3 separate regions of the Homo sapiens genome follow, and all the other regions are linked to region 3. Evidence: promoter capture Hi-C in human tissues and cell types (Jung and others, 2019). All regions are on one chromosome and are shown on one strand. The core of a region is centred on a gene start or on the middle of the fragment in contact, and the rest is flanking DNA. Distances in the headings are between cores, read along the strand shown. Region 1 holds the start of ZNF525 (zinc finger protein 525). Region 2 holds the start of ZNF813 (zinc finger protein 813). Region 3 overlaps ZNF765-ZNF761 (ZNF765-ZNF761 readthrough).

Region 1 (2,700 bases), core at 1-2,500, 45 kb after region 3:
CTTTTTAGATGTAAATCTGCTGAGCCGCTGTGTACCTTAAATAAACATCCTCCTGTCTCCCCCATATCAGTCTCTCTAGTCCTCAGTTTCCCGCAACACCATCTCTGCGCCTCCTCTGCTCTCCCCGTTAAATTCTCTCTTCTCTGTTATACCCCCTGTCCCCACTCTCTGGCACCCCAGATCCCCAGGTGTCCTCCCTGCTGTGGTTCTCCCTCTGTTCTCTTTGCCACCAGCACCACTCTGCTCTGTCTGCCCTGGCTCCAAATCCCTCCTCCTCTCCCTCACCCTGATGAGCCTCCCTCTTTGCTGTCCCTCTCCCTACCTTGCTGTCCTTCATCTCTCTGTACATCTAGCTTTTCTCTACATTTCTCTAGTTGCTTTTCTCCTCCTGCTTATCTTTTTTTTTTTTTTTTTCACTTTTGCTGTCTCTTGGCAAATCCCTCACCCATCCTCTACTTTGCCATCTGTTATGGGCCTTTCTCATTCTTCTTTTCTCTGTCTCAGGTTTTCTACTGCTGTCTGTCTCCCGATCCCTTTGGCCCACACAATCACAGGAGGGTTTGGAGTAAGACGCCTGCATCCCGGAGGAGCTTATTTTCCAGGGGCTGGAACTGGGCAGGCAAGAACACCCCGTGTCACAGGACAGAACCCGGGCACCTCCCCTAACGCAGGCTCAGGGCAAGCTGTGACTGCGGATGGGAGACCTGGGGAGCAGCAGGGCCCGGCATGAGGAGGGACGTGGGGGGCGACGGCGCCTTAAGACAAGGGTGGGGTTTGTAGGATCCCAGGACAGGCAGAGAACTCGGCCTCCCCGGGACCGGAGCTGCGACGCTGCGCTCTAGGGGCCGACGAGGGCGAGGCTGGGAGGCGCCCAGGGCGGGAATTCACCTCTCGGGTGAGGACTTTAAAAAGCGCGGGGCGGGAGGAGTCAGAAAAAGGTTTAGAGCAGGAAAACTACGCGATAGAAAGTGTATATATTGCCCTATAGCAGAAAGATCCGGAACGGGACCAGCCTCAGGGAGACTTTAAACCCAAAAGGAAGTGACCCCCGGGCTCTCACGGGGACGTCTCAATTTGCTCTGGGCGAAGGAAGACGGGTGAGAATTTCCAGGTCTGTAGGGACCCCACGTCCCAGGGACAGAAGCGCCGGGGACCTGGGAAGAGCAGACTTCATACAAGATGGAGCGAAACTCACGCGCCGCTGAGGGACCTTCACTCCACGCGATCTGCTTCCGGGTTTGCGCGCGTCTGAGCGGGGAAGGACAGAAGCCAGGCCTGGGCGGGGCCTGCGAGGAGGTGGGCGGGGCCTGGGCCAGGTAGGGGTAGAGGCGGAGAGACCTTGCCCTTTAGTACCGGCAGAGGGCGGGGCGGGGCTGGGCTGGGGCGGGATCTGTGCGTCTCTCAGCCTCCCTCCCACCGCCTCTGTTTTTGGGTTTTGGAGGCGAGATGGCCAGGAAGGCCGATCCATGATTCAAAAGCCCTGGAATTGTCTGAAACGCGGATGCAAAGTAGAATGTGAAATGCAAAGCCCTGCTTGGGCAGAACTTACAATGTCATGCTGACGGCCCAGAGAATAGAATAGAAATCCTCTCCCTTTCTATTCTCCATTCACTCCGGAGGGAGAGTCCACCCTGTGCTCAGCTGCAGAGACTTCCCTAAAGCCACCGCCTGGGATGCTGGACGGAGTGCTCAGGCCAGCGAGGAGTGAGGTCACCACCTGCCGGATAAACACAGCAAGGATGCGGACGCGGGCGCGGGAGCCTGAGGTCCCATCTACTCAGGAAGCAGGGCGGGAGGATCGCTGAACCTGGGGGTCCAGGCCAGCCTGGGCGACAAAGTAACACCCCCTCCCGCAGGGCTCCCTTCCTCGTTTCTCTCTTTCTCTCTTTATTTTTCGTTGTTTTTTTTTTACGTTTTAAAATAAGAGGTTGATTGTATGAGATAGGGATCCAACATTGTTCTTTTCCATGTGGATATCCAGTTAGTTGTCCATTCCACATTTGTGGAAGAGATCTGTTACTTTCTTTTATGTATTTACTTATTTCTTTTCTTTTGTTTTGAGACAGAGTATTTCTCTGTCATCCAGGCTGCAGTGCAGTGGTGGGATCTCGACTCACTGCAAGCCTCTGCTTCCTGGGTTCAAGTGATTCCCCTGCCTCAGCCTGAAGGGGGCCTGCCCCTCCACACCTGCGGGTGTTTCTCATCAGGTGGAGATGAGAAACTGAGAAAAGAAATAAGACACAGAGACAAAGTATAGAGAAACAGCAGTGGGCCCAGACAACCGGAGCTCAGTGTGCGAGTACCCGCACCGGCGCTGGTCTCTGAGTTCCCTCAGTATTTATTGATCACTATTTTTACTATCTTTGTGAGGGGAGTGTGGCAGGGCAACAGGGTGATGGTGGCGAGAAGGTCAGCAGGGAAACGTGAGCAAAGGAATCTGTGTCATGAATAAGTTCAAGGAAAGGTACTGTGCCTGGATGTGCACGTAGGCTAGATTTATGTTTCTCTTCACACAAACATCTCAGTGTAGCAAAGAGTCACAGAGCAGTATTGCTGCCAGCATGTCTCACCTCCAACCACAGGGCGGTTTTCTCCTACCTCAGAATAGAATGAATGGTCGGCTTTACACCGAGGCATTCCATTCCCAGAAATGAGCAGGAGACAGAAGCCTTCCTCTTATCTTGACTGCAAAGAGGCCTC
Region 2 (2,700 bases), core at 137-2,636, 57 kb before region 3:
TTGTTAACAATATGTTTGCAGGCAGTATGCTTGGTAAAAGTCATCGCCATTCTCCATTCTCAGTTAACCAGGGACACAATGCACTGCGGAAAGCCGCAGGGACCTCTGCCCTAGAAAGCCTGGGTATTGTCCAAGTTTCCCCCCACTGAGACAGCCTGAGATATGGCCTCGTGGGAAAGGAAAGACCTTACATCCCCCAGCCGGACACCCGTAAAGAGTCTGTGCTGAGGAGGAGTAGTGAAAGAGGAAGGCCTCTTTGCAGTTGAGATAAGAGGAAGACTTCTGTCTCCTGCTGGTCCCTGGGAATGGAATGTCTAGGTGTAAAGCTGACCATTTCCATTCGTTCTATTCTGAGATAGGAGAAAACCGCCCTGTGGCTGGAGGCGAGATATGCTGGCAGCAATACTGCTCTGTGACTCTTTGCTACACTGAGATGTTTGGGTGAAGAGAAACATAAATCTAGCCTACGTGCACATCTGGGCACAGTACCTTTCCTTGAACTTATTCATGATATAGATTCCTTTGCTCACATGTTTTCTTGCTGACCTCTCCCCACCTGTTGCCCTGCTACACTCCCCTCACTAGGACAGTAAAAATAATGATCAATAAATACTGAGGGAACTCAGAGGCTGGCACTGGTGCCGGTCCTCCGTATGCTGAGCGCCGGTCCCCTGGGCCCACTGTCCTTTCTCTATACTTTGTCTTTGTGTCTTATTTCTTTTCTCAGTCTCTCTTCCCACCTGACGAGAAATACCCACAGGTGTGGAAGGGCTGGCCTCCTTCAACAGGACAAGCCCCGGGCACCTCCCCAACGTGGGCTCAGGGGAAGCCGTGACTGCGGAGGGGAGACCTAGGAAGCAGCAGGGCCCGGCAGGAGGAGGGAGGTGGGGGGGGGGGGGCGCGAGGGCGCCTTAAGACAAGGGTGGGGTCTGCAGGATCCCGGGACCAGACAGAGGACGCGGCCTTCCCGGGACTGGGGCCGCGGTTCTGCGCTCCACCGGCCGAAGTGGGCGAGAATCCACCCCTTGGGTGAGGACTTCAAAAAGCGCGGGGTGGGAGGAGTCAGAGAAAGGTTTAGAGCAGGAAAAATGCGCGATAGAAAGTGTATACATTGCCCTATAGCAGAAAGACCCGGGACGGGACCAGCCTCAGGGCGACCTTAAACACAAAAGGAAGCGACCCCCGGACTCTCACGGGGTCGTCTCAATTTGCTCTGGGTGAAGGAAGACGGCTGAGAATTTCCAGGTTTGTGGGGACCCCACGCCCCAGGTACAGAAGCGCCAGGGACCTGGGAAGTGCAGACCTAATACAACACAGAGCCAAACTCACGCGCTGCCGTGGGACCGTCACTCCACGCGATCCGCTTCCGGGTTTTCGCGAATCTGCGCGCAGGACAGAAGCCAGGCCTGGGCGGGACCTGGGAGGTGGGCGGGGCCTGACGAAGCAGGGGCGGGGCGAGAGGCGGAGAGACTTTGCCCTTTGGAAGGCGCAGAGGGCGGGGCCGGGGTGGGACCTGTGAGTCCGTCACCCTCGCTCCAGCGCCTGTTTTAGGGTTTTGGAGTCGAGACCGGCCAGTAAGGTTGAGGCACTATTCAAAAGCCCTGGAATTGTCTGGAACGGGGATGCAAACTAGAATGTGAAATGCAAAGCCCTGCCTGGGCGGAAGGTACGATTTCATGCTGACGGCCCACAAAACAAAATAGAAATCCTCCCCCTTTCTATTCTCCATTCACTCAGGAGGGCAAGTCCACCCCGTGCTCAACTTCAGAGATTTCCCTAAAGCCACCGCCATGGATGCGGGACGGAGTGCTCAGGCCAGGGAGGAGTGAGGTGACCACCTGCTGGATGGGGCGCCGGGGTGGGAGGGATGCGCGCGCGGGGGCAGGAGCCTGAGGTCCCAGCTACTCAGGAAGCAGCGGCGGGAGGATCGCTGAGCCTGGGGGTCCAGGCCAGCCTGAGCGACAAAGTAACACCCCCTCCCGCAGCGCTTCCTTCCTCGTCTCTTTTTTTCCTTTTTTTTTTTTAATGTTTTAAAATACAATTTTGATTGTGTGAGATAGGGATCCAACAGTATTCTTTTCCATCTGGATATTCAGTTAGTTGTCTCAGCACGTTTGTGGAAGAGATTTATTACTTTATTTATTTACTTATTTCTTTTGAGACAGAGTATTTCTCTGTCGCCCAGGCTAGAGGGCAGTAACGGGATCTCGGTTCACTGCAGCCTCTTCCCTCTTGGGTTCAAGCGATTCCCCTGCCTCAGCCTCCGGAGTACCTGCCATTACATTCGCGTGCCACCATGCCTGGCTAATTTTTGTATTTTTGTAGACGGGTTTCACCATGTTGGCCAGGCTGGTCTCAAACTCTTGACTTCAAGTGATCCGCCTGCCTCGGCCTCCCAAAGTGCTGGCATTACAGGCGTGAGCCACTGCACCTGGCCCAACAAATACTTTTTACTTCACTTTCCAATTGTTGAGAAAACATAATTGAAAACAAACAAAAAGTCTTCCCCCCAATGAGAAATCATCTCCACGACGACAATAGAGAAAGAAATTAAAACCATTTCATTAATAAATAAGCCTTAGGCCAGATTATGATGCGAAATAGACAAACAGCTAAGAGGTTGAAAAGAGAGAAAGAAACTTCACTGTTCTATACAACCCATTAAGTACATGTTTTCAAGATAAACACTAATCAGTCCTC
Region 3 (2,700 bases), core at 1-2,500:
AACCCAATGTGATTTAGATTCAACACGGTACCCATAAAAATCCTTATCACTGGGGCTGGGCGCAGTGGCTCACGCCTGTAATCCCAGCACTTTGGGAGGCCGAGGTGGGTGGATCATCTGAGGCTGGGAGTTCAAGACCAGCCTAACCAACATGGAGAAACCCCATCTCTACTAAAAATACAAAATTAGCTGGGCGTGGTGGCTCATGCCTGTAATCCTAGCTACTCTGGAGGCTGAGGCAGGAGAATTGCTTGAACCTGGGAGGCGGAGGTTGTAGTGAGCTGGGATCGCTCCATTGCAGTCCAGCCTGGGCAACAAGAGTGAAACTCCATCTCAAAAAAAAAAAAAAAAATCCCTATCAGTTTTTGTTAAAGAAACAAAAAACAGGCTGGGAAAATGGCTCACGTCTGTTGGCCAGGCTGACCTCAAACTCCTGAACTCAAGTGATCTACCGGTGCTGGCCTCCCAAAGCGCTCAGATTACAGGTGTGAGCCACTGTGCCTGGCCCAGTCCTCTTAACATAAACACTTTAATGTCAATTAAGGCTTCAACTCAATGTTAAGTCAAACTCAAGTCAATGCTGAACTGACTCTAGTGTCAATTAATGCTTGATGGTTTGCTATACACATTGTATTTGGAACAACTATCTCCAAAATGAATTTTCTGATATCCTGCAAGGAGTGAGCTCAGACTGAAGACTTTGGCACACTGATGACATTTATAAGATTTCTGTCCAGTATGCATTCTCTGATGTCTAGTGAGGTGTGAATGTGAATTAAAGGCTTTGCCGCAATCATCACACTTGTGAGGTTTCTCTCCTGTATGAATTCTCCTATGTTTTGCATAGAATGAAGCTTGACTGAGACCTTGTCACAATCATGACATTTGTAAGGTTTCTCTCCAGTACGAGTTCGCCGATGAACTGCAAGTTATGAACAATGTCTGAAAAATTTGCCAAATTTATTAAACTAGTATGATCTCTCTTCATTATGGATTCTCCAATGATTCGCAATGGTTGTAGTGTAACTGAAGACTTTGTGACAATCATTACATAAGTAAAGTTTCCCTACACCATGGATTGCCTGATGGTAAACAAGTGTTGACTGCCCACTAAAGACCTGTCACATTCATTATACTTGTAAGCTTTCTCTCCAATGTGAATTCTAGGATGTTGTGCCAGGTGCGAATTATGCCTGAAAGCCTTGTCACAAACTCTTACATTTTTATGCTATCTCTCCAGTAGGAATTCTCCTGTGTCTTTCAAGGTTTGAGTGTGACTGAAAACTTGGTGACATTCTTCACATATGTAAGCTTTCTCTCCAGTATGAATTCTCCTGTCTTTGGAGGCTTGATTTGCGACTGTAAACTTTGTCACATGCTTCACATTTGTAACGTTTATCTCCAGTATGAATTCTATGATGATGTGCAAGCTTTGCTTTTTGATTTAAAACCTTGCCACGTTCATTACACTGCTAAGGTTTCTCTCTAGTATGAATTCTATGACTATCAAGGTTTGATTTGAATCTGAAAGCTTCATCACATTCTTCACATTTGTAAGGTTTCTAATACGACTTCACCCATGAACTGCAAAGGTATGAAGGATGTCTGAAAAATTTTCTGCATTTATTCTGCATTTATCACACTTGTAGGATCTCTCTTCATTATGGATTCTCCAATGATTTGCAATAGTTGTAGCATTACTCAAGACTTGGTGACAATCATTACATTTGTAAAATGCTGACTGCCCATGAAAGGTTTTTCTACACTCATTATCCTTGTAAGGTACCTCTCCAGTATGAAGTCTACGATGGTGCGTAAGGTATGACTTCAGACTAAAGGTCTTGCCACACTCACTACACTTTTAAGGTATCTCTCCAGTATGAAGTCTATGATGGCATGTAAGGTATGAGTTCTGACTAAAGGTCTTGCCACACTCATTACATTTGTAAGGTATCCTCCAGTATGAAGTCTACGATGGCGTGTAAGGTATGAGTTCTGACTAAAGGTCTTGCCACACTCATTACACTTGTATGGTTTCTCTCCAGTATGAATTCTCCTTTGTCTTTCAAGGTTTGATTTGAAATGGAAAACTCAAATTCTTCACATTTGTAAGGTTTCTCTCCAGTACGAAGTCTACAATGGCATGTAAGGGATGAGGTCTGGCTGAAGGTCTTGCCACACTCATTACACCTGTAAGGTTTCTCACCAGTGTGAATTCTCCTATGTCTTTCAAGGTTGGATTTGAAACAGAAAGCTTCTTCACATTCTTCACATTTGTAAGGTCTCTCCACTATGAAGTTTATGATGGTACACAAAAGATGACGTATGACTCAAGGTCTTGCCACACTCATTACACTTGTAAGATTCTCTTCAGTACGAATTTTCTGATGTATTTCAAGGTTTGATTTGAAATTGTAAGCTTTGTCAAGTTCTTCATATTTGTAAGGTTTCTCTCCACTATGAAGCCTACGATGGCATGTAAGGGTTAACTCCTGATTGAAGGTCTTACCACACTCATTACACGTGTAGTTTCTCTCCAGTATAAATTCTCCTATGTCTTTCAAGGTTTGATTTGAAACTGAAAGCTTCATCACAATCTTCACATTTGTAAGGTTTCTGTCCAGTATGAAGTCTATGATGGTATGTAAGGGATGACGTCCGGCTGAAGGTCTTGCCACACTCATTACACTTGTAAGGATT

Evidence for each region. The method cuts DNA at HindIII sites, captures the fragments that hold promoters and counts their contacts. A contact is called where the count stands out against the background at its distance.
Region 1: the fragment with the promoter of ZNF525 here is called in contact with a fragment that was not itself captured in region 3 in 2 of the 25 tissues and cell types used here (aorta and mesenchymal stem cells).
Region 2: the fragment with the promoter of ZNF813 here is called in contact with a fragment that was not itself captured in region 3 in 7 of the 25 tissues and cell types used here (H1 embryonic stem cells, adrenal gland, heart right ventricle and 4 more).

What each region holds. Positions count from the first base shown.
Region 1 is chr19:53,364,255-53,366,954 of GRCh38, reverse strand. It overlaps ZNF525 (zinc finger protein 525), which reads right to left and starts at 1,250. Exons shown (of 4, transcript NM_001348156.2): 1 at 1,196-1,250. RefSeq lists silencers at 853-912, 1,313-1,362 and an enhancer at 953-1,202. The HindIII fragment of the contact is 12,378 bases long and covers 1-2,700 here.
Region 2 is chr19:53,466,419-53,469,118 of GRCh38, reverse strand. ZNF813 (zinc finger protein 813) reads right to left here and starts at 1,386. Exons shown (of 4, transcript NM_001004301.4): 1 at 1,330-1,386. RefSeq lists enhancers at 42-604, 605-1,166, 1,103-1,342 and a silencer at 1,413-1,542. The HindIII fragment of the contact is 7,979 bases long and covers 1-2,700 here.
Region 3 is chr19:53,408,945-53,411,644 of GRCh38, reverse strand. The region is part of intron 3 of ZNF765-ZNF761 (ZNF765-ZNF761 readthrough); the gene reads right to left. ZNF765 (zinc finger protein 765) reads right to left here. Exons shown (of 4, transcript NM_001040185.3): 4 at 1-2,700. The coding sequence ends at 2,518. It also overlaps the pseudogene LOC124904793. Among named protein-coding and RNA genes, the nearest start is that of ZNF765-ZNF761, 15 kb to the right of the region's middle. The HindIII fragment of the contact is 3,821 bases long and covers 1-2,700 here.